Regions from separate parts of the Homo sapiens genome. Here region 1 is linked to region 2. Evidence: promoter capture Hi-C in human tissues and cell types (Jung and others, 2019). All regions are on one chromosome and are shown on one strand. Each heading gives the region's core, a stretch centred on a gene start or on the middle of the fragment in contact. The rest is flanking DNA. Distances are from core to core; before and after follow the strand shown. Region 1 overlaps HEBP2 (heme binding protein 2). Region 2 holds the start of TNFAIP3 (TNF alpha induced protein 3).

Region 1 (6,216 bases), core at 844-3,343, 540 kb after region 2:
TATAGACGGAAATTTCTTCAAGAATATGACAGCATGTTACTATGTCCATATATTCCAGCCCCTGGCAAGGCAGGCACGTGGGGGTGAGGGAGGCAAGCACCATATATGTTGTCTGTGTTCTGAATAAAACAGTGAATAGATCATTGTGAAACAACACACAGTCAGAGAACAAAAGCTTATTTCTAATTAGAGGGTTCAGTATTTGATTTTAAGGGAAAATGAATTTGAAAACAAATTCCTTTTAGGCAGAACATGCTAAGCATTGGTTATTCATCAAGGAAATAAATAATACATTTAAGAGCCAAAATGTTTCTTTCTTTTTTTTTTTTTTTTTCTGAGATGGAGTTTCACTCTTGTTGCGCAAGCTGGAATACAATGGCGCAATCTCAGCTCACTGCAATGTCCGCCTCCCAGGTTCAAAGTGATTCATCTGCCTCAACCTCCCGAGTAGCTGGGATTACAGTCACCCCTCCTCACTATGCCTGGCTAATTTTTATATTTTTAGTAGAGACGGGGTTTCACCATCTTGGCCAGGCTGGTCTGGAACTCCTGACCTCAGGTGATCCACCCGCCTTGGCTTCTCAAAGTGTTGAGACTACAGGCGTGAGCCACCATGCCTGGCCCAAAATGTTTCTTAACCCATGGTTCAGAATTATATTCAATCGACATGAAAATGATAGAATGGAAGAGTTATATCAACTCACCTGCAGTGTTTTATTTTGCATACATGTGCATGCAGAGATTCCTACACTTGACAGGATTAAAAGGGAACTGCATGCCAGGAATGGTTCTGGGTGCTGGGTAGACATTGTTATATAAAGCAGACATGGTTTGTACCCTTAAAAGAGATGACACCTCAGCTGAAGCGTGGTAGGATTGATTTTTTGCACTGGCACATTGATAACAGAACTTATACCAAAGAAGGCATATTAGGAAAAGTTTTGTTTCTCAGTGTTTCTTATTCTTAACCCTCAAAATCAAATTCATCATGCTTGCATGTCAGCAGCTCAGCTAGGTCAGTGCTGTCATGATTTAATCTCAGGATGTTTTTGTTTATATACTGTAGAATGTATACTTAAACTTTTATTCTCTTTTCCCACTTTTTGTTTTAATCTTTTGACTGTCTTTTCTTCCACTTCCCCACAGCAGCCTCCTGACTGGATCCTTCCTCACCAGTCTATTATATGTCTGCCTATATTCTAATCCAGATCTTATCAAGTTGCACATTTCAGCTCAACATCCTTGGAAATAACCTCAAAAGGCCTTAGGCTAATGCACAGGGTTCTTCCTTCTAGTTCTGACTCACCTTCCTGACCTCATTTTATGCCTCACTATGAAAACACTTGGTATTTTTAGATTTATGGTCTCTTTCCTATCACTCCCCTTTCTTTGTTCAGCAAAACCATCCTCCATTCAGGCCCAACTCAGATGATTCTCCTTACCCCAGATTTAATCAGGTCCTCAACGCTCCCACAACACTTTGATCCTGTCCCTGTTTAAAACCCTTCTCAGAGGCCGGGCGTGGTGGCTTATGCCTATAATCCCATTGCTTTGGGAGGCCAAGGCAGGTGGATCACTCGAGCTCAGGAGTTTGAGACCAGCCTAGGTAACACAGTAAGACCCTGTCTCTACAGGTTTTTTAAAAAATTAGTCCGATGTGCACCTGTGGTTCCAGCAACTTGGGAGGCTGAGGTGGGAGGACTGCTTGAGCCCAGGAGGTCAAGGATGCTCTGCCACCATATTCCAGCCTGGGCAACAGACAGAGTGAGACTCTGTCTCAAAAAAACAAACAAACAAAAAAACCTCAGGATGTATAGAGAGAGCTGCCAGAACGTTGATCTCTTCCATTGGATCATAAATTCAGAGAGGTGAAAACTGTATCATATTCATCTGTAATCCAGTGTTTATTCTTTTCCTTAGGAGAGGGAAAAAGGGGCAATGTGCAAGTGAAAATCGAGTCTGGAAAAGGGGCTTCTACAGGGGTGTTGGTGTAGTTCTCTGATCAGCAGCACCGGCATGGATGTGGGAGCTCGGAGGAAATACACTCTCAGGCCCCACCCCAGACCTGAATCTGCATCGTAGCAAAATCCCCAGGTGACCTGTATGCACGTTAAAGGTTTGAGAAGCACAGGGTAGAGCACTTGAGATTGTGTAGGTTCCAAATCCACCTGTCAACAGATGGAAGGAGGGGATGCATCCTCCTGGGTTTCCTCAGTGCTTCTGAGGTCACATGGAGACTGGGAATCACAGGCAGGAGTGGTCAGTTCATCTGCTGAGAGGGAGTAGCTTTTTTTATTTTTATTTTTTGAGAAAGAGTCTTGCACTCTGTCGCCCAGGCTGGAGTGCAGTGGCGTGATCTTGGCTCACTGCAACCTCCACCTCCCAGGTTCAAGCGATTCTCCTGCTTCAGCCTCCCAAGTAACTGGGACTACAGGCATCCGCCACCACATCTGGCTAAGTTTTGTATTTTTATTAGAGATGGGGTTTTACCATGTTGGCCAGGCTGGTCTTGAACTCCTGACCTCAAGTGATCCGCCCACCTTGGCCTCCCAAAGTCCTGGGATTACAGGTGTGAGCCACCTCGCCTGGCCGAGAGGGAGTAACTTTGGAGCTGCACTTCACTCAGCATTCACGGTACTAGCGCCCGCTTTTTGCTTCAGACTGACATTCACATCAGTATTAAAATCATTCACGGTTATTTCCTTTCTCCTTTGTAGGTCTTTCGATGGATTTTCTAGTGCCCAAAAGAATCAAGAACAACTTTTGACATTAGCAAGCATTTTAAGGGAAGATGGAAAAGTTTTCGATGAGAAGGTTTACTACACTGCAGGCTACAACAGTCCTGTCAAATTGCTTAATAGAAATAATGAAGTGTGGTTGATTCAAAAAAATGAACCCACCAAAGAAAACGAATGAGAAAAATGAAAGGAAGTTCTGCTGTCAGAGGCAAAACATCTGTTTATCATAGACATCAACATGACCTATAAGTAAAGTGCGTGTCTAGTGTCTTCTATTGAGAGTACTACTATTAATTAAGCTTATTTCCAATGTGCCTTTTTAATGCTTGAAGTTTTATCTACATACACAGGTAACAGAGGACAGTAGTCTGTAAACATATAAATCGGTCATAACTATCGTGGTCTTTATTTCTGTGAGGATCTAGGGAAATTTCATGTCACTTCCCTCCTTCACTGCATCACAATCATATTCCCTTTTTTTTTTCTTGGATTTGTGTCAGTTGGATGATATCCCCTCCAGATAGTATCAATAAAATGTTAAAATTATTTATCTTGTGTGGAACCCCTAGGCTGTCAGGCCCGGAGAGGTGAAATTCAGCTGGACACAAAAATCAAATTGTCTTTTGTGGCTGCCACCATTACATTCTCTGTTGTATGTATTACTTTCCCTCCTGCATCCTCCCACTGCCCCACTGCACAAGAATACTCCATGTAACTCCATTTAAATGTAATGAATTCATTCCTTTCTTTCTGGTCTCCACTTAACCCCCTAAAAATCTTGCTTTTTCCCCTAAACATTTCCCTGAACTGTCACGTATTTTCATTCATTCTTTAACTCATTGTAGGGAGTCCCTGCTATGTTCCAAGCACTCTGCTAAGGACTGGGAGGTGGTGGTAAGAAAACCTGTGTCCCAAGCCCCTCATCACTGACTTCCTCTTCACTAACTCCAACAACATCTTTCCACCTCCTTAACTATTTCATTCACCCTCCCACTGTGAACACCACAGACAAGGCCCCTGGCCTCATGGAGTTTACATTCTAGAGGGTGAGGGAGTTCAACACAAATAAGATGCTTGAAATTGGCAAGTGTGATGAAGAACAGAATAGGGCAGTGGGGTAGAGTGTGGTTAGGTAGGGTGTGGTGGACATCACATAAGGTGGTCAGCAAAGGCCTCTCAAGAGACAGTTGAGACTTGAATGACGAGGATGAGTCAGATGAAAGCCAGGGGCAGAGGTGAGGGGAGCATCTTGGGCAGAGGTGACAGTGTTAAAGGGAGAGGCCACGTTCAGTACCCAGAACAAAAAGCTGCACACACTGCTTGCTGAGCAAGAGAGCACTGCTCTTGTAGGGCACGGTCTCTCGGATAAAGAAAACTGCGGACCTTATGCAGGGTTTTAGGAAGGATTAACAGACTTTCAAAAGCATTTAGGAGTCGAGGGAGCTTTAGTTGTGGGGATGCAGTTACCAGAGTGAGGCCGCTGCTGATTAGCATGATTTAGAAGCCTAGTTTGGAGGTGAGGTTACTGATGGGAAATTGTCATTGATTGTTTCTGGTACTTAATTGCTACTGTGGCCAAAGGATGGTCAGTTTTATTCAGGATTTGAAGTGGTGGCAGACAACGTGAGGTGTGCCACTCAAATTCACCTTCAAGAAAGTACCAGCCGCCCAGCTGTGAGGGGTGTGGTTCGCCGACAGTCTCCCCGTTACCGTCTTCAGGGTCCACGCCAGATTTCAAGATAAGGACACACTATTCTGTGGGAGAGAGGGACCTAGTCTACAACTGAGCAAGGCAGTGGTAGCTGACAGCATGCTTTTTTCTGGCAATTCCCAGCCAATAACTGAGCAAGGTGGTGGTATAAGACCTAGCCATTTAGGCCAGGTGCAGTGGCTCACAGCTGTAATTCCAGCACTTTGGGAGGCTAAGGTGGGAGGATTGCTTGAGCCCAGAAGTTCAAGACGAGTCATGGCAACCTAGTGAGACTGTCTGTCCAAAAAATAAAAAATTAGCCAAGCGTGGTGGCACACGCCTGTATTCCTAGCTCCTGAGGTGAAAGGATTGCTTGAGCTCGGGAGGCGGAGGTTGCAGTGAGTCCTGATCATGCCACTGCACTCCAGCCTGGGTGACAGAGCAAGATCCTGTCTCAGAAAGAAAAAAAAAAGTCCTAGTCATTTCTACCAACTCGAAAGCCCTCTAATAAGCAGTCTCTGCTCTGGAGCTTTTTGGTGGGCTGCTAGAGACTTTGTTAGATCCTACCGTTCCTCTGCTCAATCCTGCTTTTCCCTTTTCCTTTCAGAGATGTCACTTCACCAGTTTTGTACTCCTAACTCCATCTCAGCCTAAAATTGGCACAATTGGTACCAGTGGCCCACGAACGTAGGTGGTAAGACAGCATTTGCAGGCTGAGTGACTCACTGTCTGGCTGGCTCGGAGGCCCCCATCCCTGGTGGATAGGTGGCACAGACAGTCCCTGGCACAAGAAGGCTGTCCAGTGATGAAGACTTCAGATGAAATGGCATGCTGGTGCAGGGGAACGCAATGACTGGTGGGTGATTTGGGTGTCTCAAATATGGGAAGGGTGGATAAAAGAGACAAGGACAGTGGGCTTCCATGGTTATTGCTGAGTTGGATTGACGTCCTGCAAGTGGATAATGAAAAGCTGAGGTCAATTAACAAACAAAACTAAGTGTGAGCCGCAGAGTCTCTGTGGTAGCTTGCCAACAATCCTCATCTCATGCTGTAGCCAAGCAGAGCAAGCTGAAGGCCAAGCACAGGATTTGATGGTAAAAGTAGCTAACAGCCAACAAATACTCAACCAAGCCAGGTCTGTTAGATCAAGGTTGGAATCAAACTTGGGATCCCAAAACATGGGATGGGAGCATTTAGTGGATCTCCCCAACCATCTGCCTCCCTAGAAAACTCCCTGAATATTCACATCCTTCAGAAGAGGCCCACCCTTCCCCATGAAGAGCTGGAACTACCCTCCCTTCCTGCCTCTTCCCTAACACAAGGGAAGACAGTGTCCAAGGTCTTTCCCCATGAAGCAAAAGGTGTCCCTCAGGACTGGTCCCTCCCCTTCTCCTGGCTACCAGGCCTATAACGAGACTTAAGTCACAACATAACTGATTGCGGCTGAGGGGTCTGATGAGGGAGAAATGGGATCTATGCCAGAGGAGCCACCTAACCTGGCAGCATGTACTGCAGGGGCCAGGGGCGTACTCTTGGGACTGGATCCTGAGGGTGCTTGGTCAAAGGGGCTGGGTTTATACAACTAGATAAAGGAGAGGGTATATTGACTTGGGGCTCTCAGGATAGAGGATTTCACACCATGAGAAAAATGCCAGGAGATAATACAGACTCACTGCTCTAGGGCAGCTTGGTAGAAGCCTAGAAAGAGTGATCAAAATGTTGAAATGCCTGAATGGCTGGGACAAACAATAGAGAAAGGAATGAGAAGGCTCAGGGAAGGGAGCATGC
Region 2 (6,722 bases), core at 3,303-5,802:
GGAATTTCCACCATTAAGCTCTAGGAAGTTCTGTAAGAACATTTTATCAAGAAATATAACACAGTAACACATCACAATCTGTTTGAAAAATGAGCATGATTTATCTTACCAGCCAGTCCCGGGAAACAGGTCTCTGAAAGAATGGAAGCCTTTCAAATTCTTTTTTTATGGAGATGGCTGGCAGCCAAAGGAGCAGGATTATAGAGACCCCAAACTAGACTGAAGGGATTGAGGGACAAATGAGAAAGGGGAATGTCAAGGCAAATTTTCACAATGGCTTGCACTATTCCAAGTAACAGGAACTAATTTATCTCAGAAACACCGGGCTTACTGCTAAAACCAACACTGCTTTCTAGCTCGTTCCTAATAACACCCATTTCTGGGCTTTCTAACATCCTATTTGGTCATTAATAGCAGCCTTCACAGAAACATAAATGAAACTAAGAATTGAATATTTATATTTATGATGTAAAATAAAATTACTTTCCCAAGTGTTTCAGCCAAGTGTTGACAGGAAATAAAACAGAATTCACAGGGATAGTGGATTTTCTGACAAGTTTGAGATGTCAGCATCGCACGCTTTCAGGCAAAGTGCAACAGAAGGAACTGTACTTGTCATTACACCAACTGCCTCCTTCCCAGTGGAGGGTCTTTGATCCTGGTACTATGACTCACTGGGTCACTAAGGACTTCAGTTGTCCCTCCACCATGGTGGGTCTTGGGTTTCTCCATTCAGTCCAGATAACACATGTAAAGGATCTGAGGTCCCTAGATAAGAAGCAACATTCAGTAGAATTTGGCATTCATAGGATGATGAAATTTATGACATCATTATCCCAGTTCTCACGGTTATAATCCACAGAAAGCTTCTCTTTATTCTCAGAACTAGCCCTTGTAGTGGCCTTGAATGTGCAAACGTTACCCTTTAGTAATGTTTGAGGCAGAATTTGAAAATCTGAAACATGATTCAAAGCTACCCTACAATAACTAAGCTGCCATAGTTACCTAAGGCTGCTTCCCAATATGTTTTCTATGAATCTGCCTTTCCAATAGAGCACAGTGCAGGGAAAAGGGGAGGGGGCAATTGTACAAAAGACACAAAAGGTCCAGTTTTAGTTTGGCCCATGACTGCCATGCCCTGGAATTCTGTACAGTCTCAGAAAGAGAGTGTCACTGATTATTAAAAATACATAATTTCTTCTTTTTTATTTTTTTAATTTTTAGAAACATGGGTCTTACTATGTTGCCCAGGATAGACTCAAACTCCCGGACTCAAAGGACCCTTCCCTCTCAGCCTCCCGAGTAGCTGGGACTGCAGACGCATGCTAATTAACAATCAACAACCAGGGGCCAGGCGCGGTGGCTCACGCCTGTAATCCCAGCACTTTGGGAGGCCAAGGCGGGTGGATCACGAGGTCAGGAGAATCGAGACCATCCTGGCTAACACGGCGAAACCCCGTCTCTACTAAAAATACAAAAAATTAGCCGGGCGTAGTGGCGGGCGCCTGTAGTCCCAGCTACTCGGGAGGCTGAGGCAGGAGAATGGCGTGAACCCGGGAGGCGGAGCTTGCAGTGAGCTGAGATCGCGCCACTGCACTCCAGCCTGGGCGACAGAGCAAGACGACGTCTCAAAAAAAAAAAAAAGAATCAACAACCAATCAACTGTTGCTGATTCTTGATTAAGAAAGGCTCATGAAATATGTTTGAGCTCAGCAGGGTCTCCTCTCACTTGTCACACGTGGTGCTCTCTTTCATCAGGTTCTTCCTGCTCCCCCCATCTGGGCAAGCACATCTTTTTTACTGCATGGTACAGGGATACAGGCTGCAAGCACAGTCTCACGGGAACCGTTTAATTCCAAGAGGTCATGTGTGCTCATTTTACATAGTTCATGACCCATAAACCCCAGCATTGGTGTCAAAATGGCACGTAACTTAGGAACTCTCCAAAAATATTTCACATAATCAGAATTCCTTTTTCATCTAATAAGGAGACATATTTTTTCTCCTAAGTGTCTACTAAATGTTAATAAATATTCTCTTCTTTAAAGAGTTCTGTCCATCTTGACAAGGCCTATAGCTCAAATTAAATCTCCTTCAAGGCTTTTCAGCATTCTATATCTCTTTGGTTTCAACTTATTCAACAAATCTCCCCAAATTGTATTTCTCCTTTTTTTCATAAGAAGGCATTCCATCTATACTCTCTCCTTCTCTTCTTTTCTTTCCTTCTGATTCACCAAGAAAATTGTCATTGGTCTTGTCCATGTGTTACATAATAGAAGGGGAAAAGGCAAGGGTACAGCCCAACACAGCGCTGATTTAGAAGGTGGAAAGGACAGTAAAGACCGCCTGGTGGTGGGAGTGGCAATTCACAAGCCCAGCAGTAGAATCATGGAAAGTGGAGTTCGAACATAATCCAGGGCTATAGACCACTCCTGCATCTGACTGCTATTACCTTGTCACAAATCCTGGCAGGCAAGATGACAAAGCAGTTACATCAGGACAGTTGGCAGTGGCAGGTATGAACGTGGCCCCTCAGGCTTGTCACTCCTCTTTACTGCACTCCCAGTTCATGACACCAGACAGCAAGACATGAGCCAGATAGGGGCAGTGGAAGCTGCAGGAGGATTGAAGTCATGGAGCCAGAGATGAGAGGAAACAGGCCAACTCTGTTTACAAAGGAGCACCAGCAGGAGAGTGGTGTGAGGATTAACATTCCATGCAGGGTCTTTCAGATACATGATCTTCTTCTGCCAGCTCAACTGAAACCCAGGAGGTTTCCTGAAGGTGAAACCAAGACCCTTCTACCTCTGAAGCCGCATTCTGTCTAAGGTCCGTGTTTGGCTGTTTTGAGAGGCTGGGAGACAGGACACCAAAAGAGTACCTGTCTCACAGGATCTTTCCTGAGAGGAATGGTCTAGTAAGACTGGTCATTATGGGCTTTGGAGTAACACAGGCTTAATGCCACTGGCGACTCTGCCCCTTTTGGTTGTGGAAACTGGGCAAATGCCTCAAGCTTCTTAACCTTCATATAAAAAGCATATATAAGCATATAGCAAGTACTTGATAAATGTCATTTTAGACCCTGTCATTTCTGCTAGCCCTGGACTCCAGCAAGGTCCATTTACAATGGATAGCTGACTATCCATTGTTTGAATGTTGATAGCACATTTGTGAACAAGAAGAGAGGACAAATAACAAGAGGTTTGGAACTGGAAGAAATTCCAGCCATCGGTTTTAAAAGACGAGGACCAGTCTTCAGAGAGGCCACTAGTGACACTCTGCTCCAAACTTCTTTTTGCCAAAAAAGTGCCACCCTCCATCCAGCCCCCACCCCCATCTCTGCAAGTCCTTACTGGCGAGAGGAGGATACTTTTCTAATTAAAAACCTGTGATATATGGCCTGACAAGTATTCTTAAATGTAATTAAGGGGACCATAGTACAGAATATTTCCATCCGGTTCTAGTTTAGCCAATCTAGTAAATGATCCAAAGGGTCCCGTGCTTAGAGGGCAGTAAGACAGTAAAAACGCCCTAAGACTCCTCCCTGCACAGCACCTGCACCCCCACTGCCCAGGGGGCTGCATCCATCTCCACATGACTCACCCTCCCTGTGCAACGCATGGGGGTAGGGAGGGAAGCGCCAGTATTATCAGCCATCAGCACCCTGGGGTGAACTGATTATCAGGACAACTAAAAACACACCTAATAAAGCCTTGGAGACACATGGCAAGCACCGTGATGGACTAGAAGCGATTTCTAAGCTGAAATGCTGCTTTGAATGCAATGTCAGCTGGATGCTTGGTGAGCAGAAATAGACAAGGGGAAATGGAGCAAGCGCGGCATAGGGGTGAGTGTTGTTCTGATTCCTAAGTTTACCTAAGACTGGGGCCACGGGGTCGGGTGTCCCCTGGGACCTACGTCTCATGCAGCCTGGGGTCCAGAGCTGGCAGGAACAATGGAGATGGGGACCAAAGGCTGTCACCGCTGCTTTTTCTCGAAATGCCCGCCCGGGTCCTGTCTGGGGCTCCCGCCTACGCGCTCATCACGTGCACAGCCCAAACTTTTCAGAGCCGGCCCGAGGCCTGCGGGCCCGGGCGCCAGGGTGGTTTTTAGGGTTTTCTTTCTTTCTTATTTCCCTTCTTCTTCTCCACAGTTGATGATTTTCTGCAGAAAAACAACTGCGAAAAAGAACCTATTTCATTTCCAGTTCCCATCACCGCGATTTCCACATGGATGTGACGTGACCCCAGCTTCCGAAATGCCCAGGTGACTCACGCGGGGACACCCCGGGGCGGGGCGAGGGAGTTTCTCCGGGCGCCTGCAGGGACCGGGCGGGGCGGGGCAGCGGGGCGGGGCAGGGAAAGGGGGCGGGGCGGGGCCCGCAGGCCCGGTCGGGCGGAGGCCGCGCGCGCCCCTCGCCCCCTGCGCCCTCTGGCGGCCGGCTGGACGCACTTCGCAGCCCGACCCAGAGAGTCACGTGACTTTGGAAAGTCCCGTGGAAATCCCCGGGCCTACAACCCGCATACAACTGAAACGGGGCAAAGCAGACTGCGCAGTCTGCAGTCTTCGTGGCGGGCCAAGCGAGCTTGGAGCCCGCGGGGGCGGAGCGGTGAGAGCGGCCGCCAAGAGAGATCACACCCCCAGCCGACCCTGCCAGCGAGCGAGCCCGACCCCAGGCGTCCATGGAGCGTCGCCTCCGCCCGGTCCCTGCCCCGACCCCCGCCTGCGGCGCGCTCCTGCCTTGACCAGGACTTGGGACTTTGCGAAAGGATCGCGGGGCCCGGAGAGGTAACCGCCGCGCCTCCCGGAGAGGTAACCGCCGCGCCTCCCGGAGAGGTAACCGCCGCGCCTCCCCGTGCCGTCTGCCTCGGGCTCACCGCAGTCAAGGGCTGCGGGTGCATGTTGGGCAGCGACCCCCGGGCTGGCACCGTCTACCTGGCGTTGGTTTTGCAGCGCTCCTGGACTGGGAGTTTGTTGGACGTTTCTGTCTGGGTTTTGAAGTGCTGGGAGTTGAGGTCACTGCTGCAGAGGTTGGAGTGACAGCCCTGGATACCTCCAGCCAGCTGTTCCTTTCAGATAATGCACGGAACTTAAGCTGCAGCTGACTGGTGAAGAGGCGCCCCTCGGGCCCTCCGATCGGGTGGTCGTTGGCGCTTTGCTCCTTTCGTGTCTTTTTTGGAGCCAAGCGTTGCATGCTCATGGCCACGTAGACCTTGCAGAAGCGCTGCGGCTTTTTCCCAAATTGTGCAGGACCAGCCCGACGGGGCGTAGGGTACCGCAGTGGCCGCCAGCCCGGCGGAGGTGGGGGGCTTCAGTCCCAGAGACAGCTTCCCAGACGCTCACGGGTCCTTGCAGGGGGCTGGGGTCCTGGCGCGGGGTTCAGCTTTTCCAGTAGCAGCAGTGTAAGAGAAGTATGCATGTAGACGTGGGTCGCTGGCCCCTGCTCCAGCCCCTACCCCACGGTTAGACTGTCTTTGTCAGCTGGAGTCGTCCCACATCCTGCCACCTGGCCTCTCAGAAAAGCAGTGGCATTAAGTAAGGAAGGAGCTTAACTCTTTTTGAGCCCGCTTTGTTTTCGGTTCTCCTCGCCTCAGATCTTCTTGCCTTGGAAAGCCAGTCTGGTCAAGTGTCTCAGGGTAGCATTTTGGCAGAACCATTGTTAATTAAAGGGACTTCTGGACCGCAACCTTAATGTACCAGATTATTGAGCAGCCAATGAATGCTTCATTCTCATTGTTTAAGGTGCTGCTTTGATTTTTTTTTCAATTCTTTGTACTATTTTTGATTTTTTGGAGAGGCACATCCCCAAATTTGGATGAGGTATTTGTTGATAAATAATTCATCAATTTCCACAATGCAGACAAAAATGTCTGCCCAGAGTGGAAAAATAAAACAAGGGGGAGAAGAGTTTGAGTAACGGAGAAGTTCTGTGGAATCCTAGTGACAAAAGTTGAGAAACTACCTTTAAATAAGACAGTGAGGTAACAAATGTTAAAAAAAAAAAAGTTAAGGGTAATATTGCATTGTTTGCCACTTATAACGTATCTGAAACATTTGTTCTTTAATCTTAAGCGTAGAGTGGTCCAAGACCTGGAAATCTGGGCAGTGGGTTTTGATTTCTAAGGAGGCAGTTTTACAGGCTGTGCAAGGCTAACCCTACCAATGAGATCACACTGGCGTATCCGATATTGACATTTGCATGTCTTGCCTATGGTTTACAGCTCTCACTATTTTAGATCTTTGGTGAAAAATCTTTAGATTCAGAAGAGAAAAATAAAAGAGTCAGGCAAGCAAAAAGAGATAACACCTCATTTGTTTAAAATCTTCCTACTGCCCATCTCTTTCCATCTGATTGTGGCAGGCACTGTAGCCACAGGTTTGGTGTTGTGGGATTGCAAGGGGCAGGTATTGAAAGACCTGGCTCCTAGGCAAAACTTTGCCCCTGAATGGCTGTGGGATCTGAGCAGTACCTGTAACTCCATTGCCTTAGCTGCAGACTAAGGTGGTAGTGTAATTTCAGGGAAGGGAATAAGGTCATCTTTGACTTTTAGTCCCATCATCAAGCATGGTGATTGGCCTTCAGTAGGTGGTCAGGTAGTGCTTGTTGGGTGGATGGGTGGATGGATGGATAGATGGATGGATGGATGGATGGATGGATGGATGGATGGATGGACGGACGGACGGACGGACGGATAGATGATATTGTGAAAGAGACTTTTGCT

The links. Contacts are between HindIII fragments. The study calls those that stand out against the background at their distance.
Region 1: a fragment that was not itself captured here is called in contact with the fragment with the promoter of TNFAIP3 in region 2 in 1 of the 25 tissues and cell types used here (liver).

Annotation. Positions count from the first base shown.
Region 1 is chr6:138,410,163-138,416,378 of GRCh38, forward strand. HEBP2 (heme binding protein 2) reads left to right here. Exons shown (of 4, transcript NM_014320.3): 4 at 2,718-6,216. The coding sequence ends at 2,916. Among named protein-coding and RNA genes, the nearest start is that of HEBP2, 9.0 kb to the left of the region's middle. The HindIII fragment of the contact is 5,988 bases long and covers 1-5,087 here.
Region 2 is chr6:137,862,707-137,869,428 of GRCh38, forward strand. It overlaps TNFAIP3 (TNF alpha induced protein 3), which reads left to right and starts at 4,553. Exons shown (of 9, transcript NM_001270508.2): 1 at 4,553-4,836. WAKMAR2 (wound and keratinocyte migration associated lncRNA 2) reads right to left here and starts at 5,527. Exons shown (of 4, transcript NR_049793.1): 1 at 4,936-5,527; 2 at 3,877-4,178; 3 at 2,453-2,614. RefSeq lists an enhancer at 4,090-4,229 and silencers at 4,310-4,449, 4,690-4,859, 5,000-5,099. The HindIII fragment of the contact is 7,262 bases long and covers 1,940-6,722 here.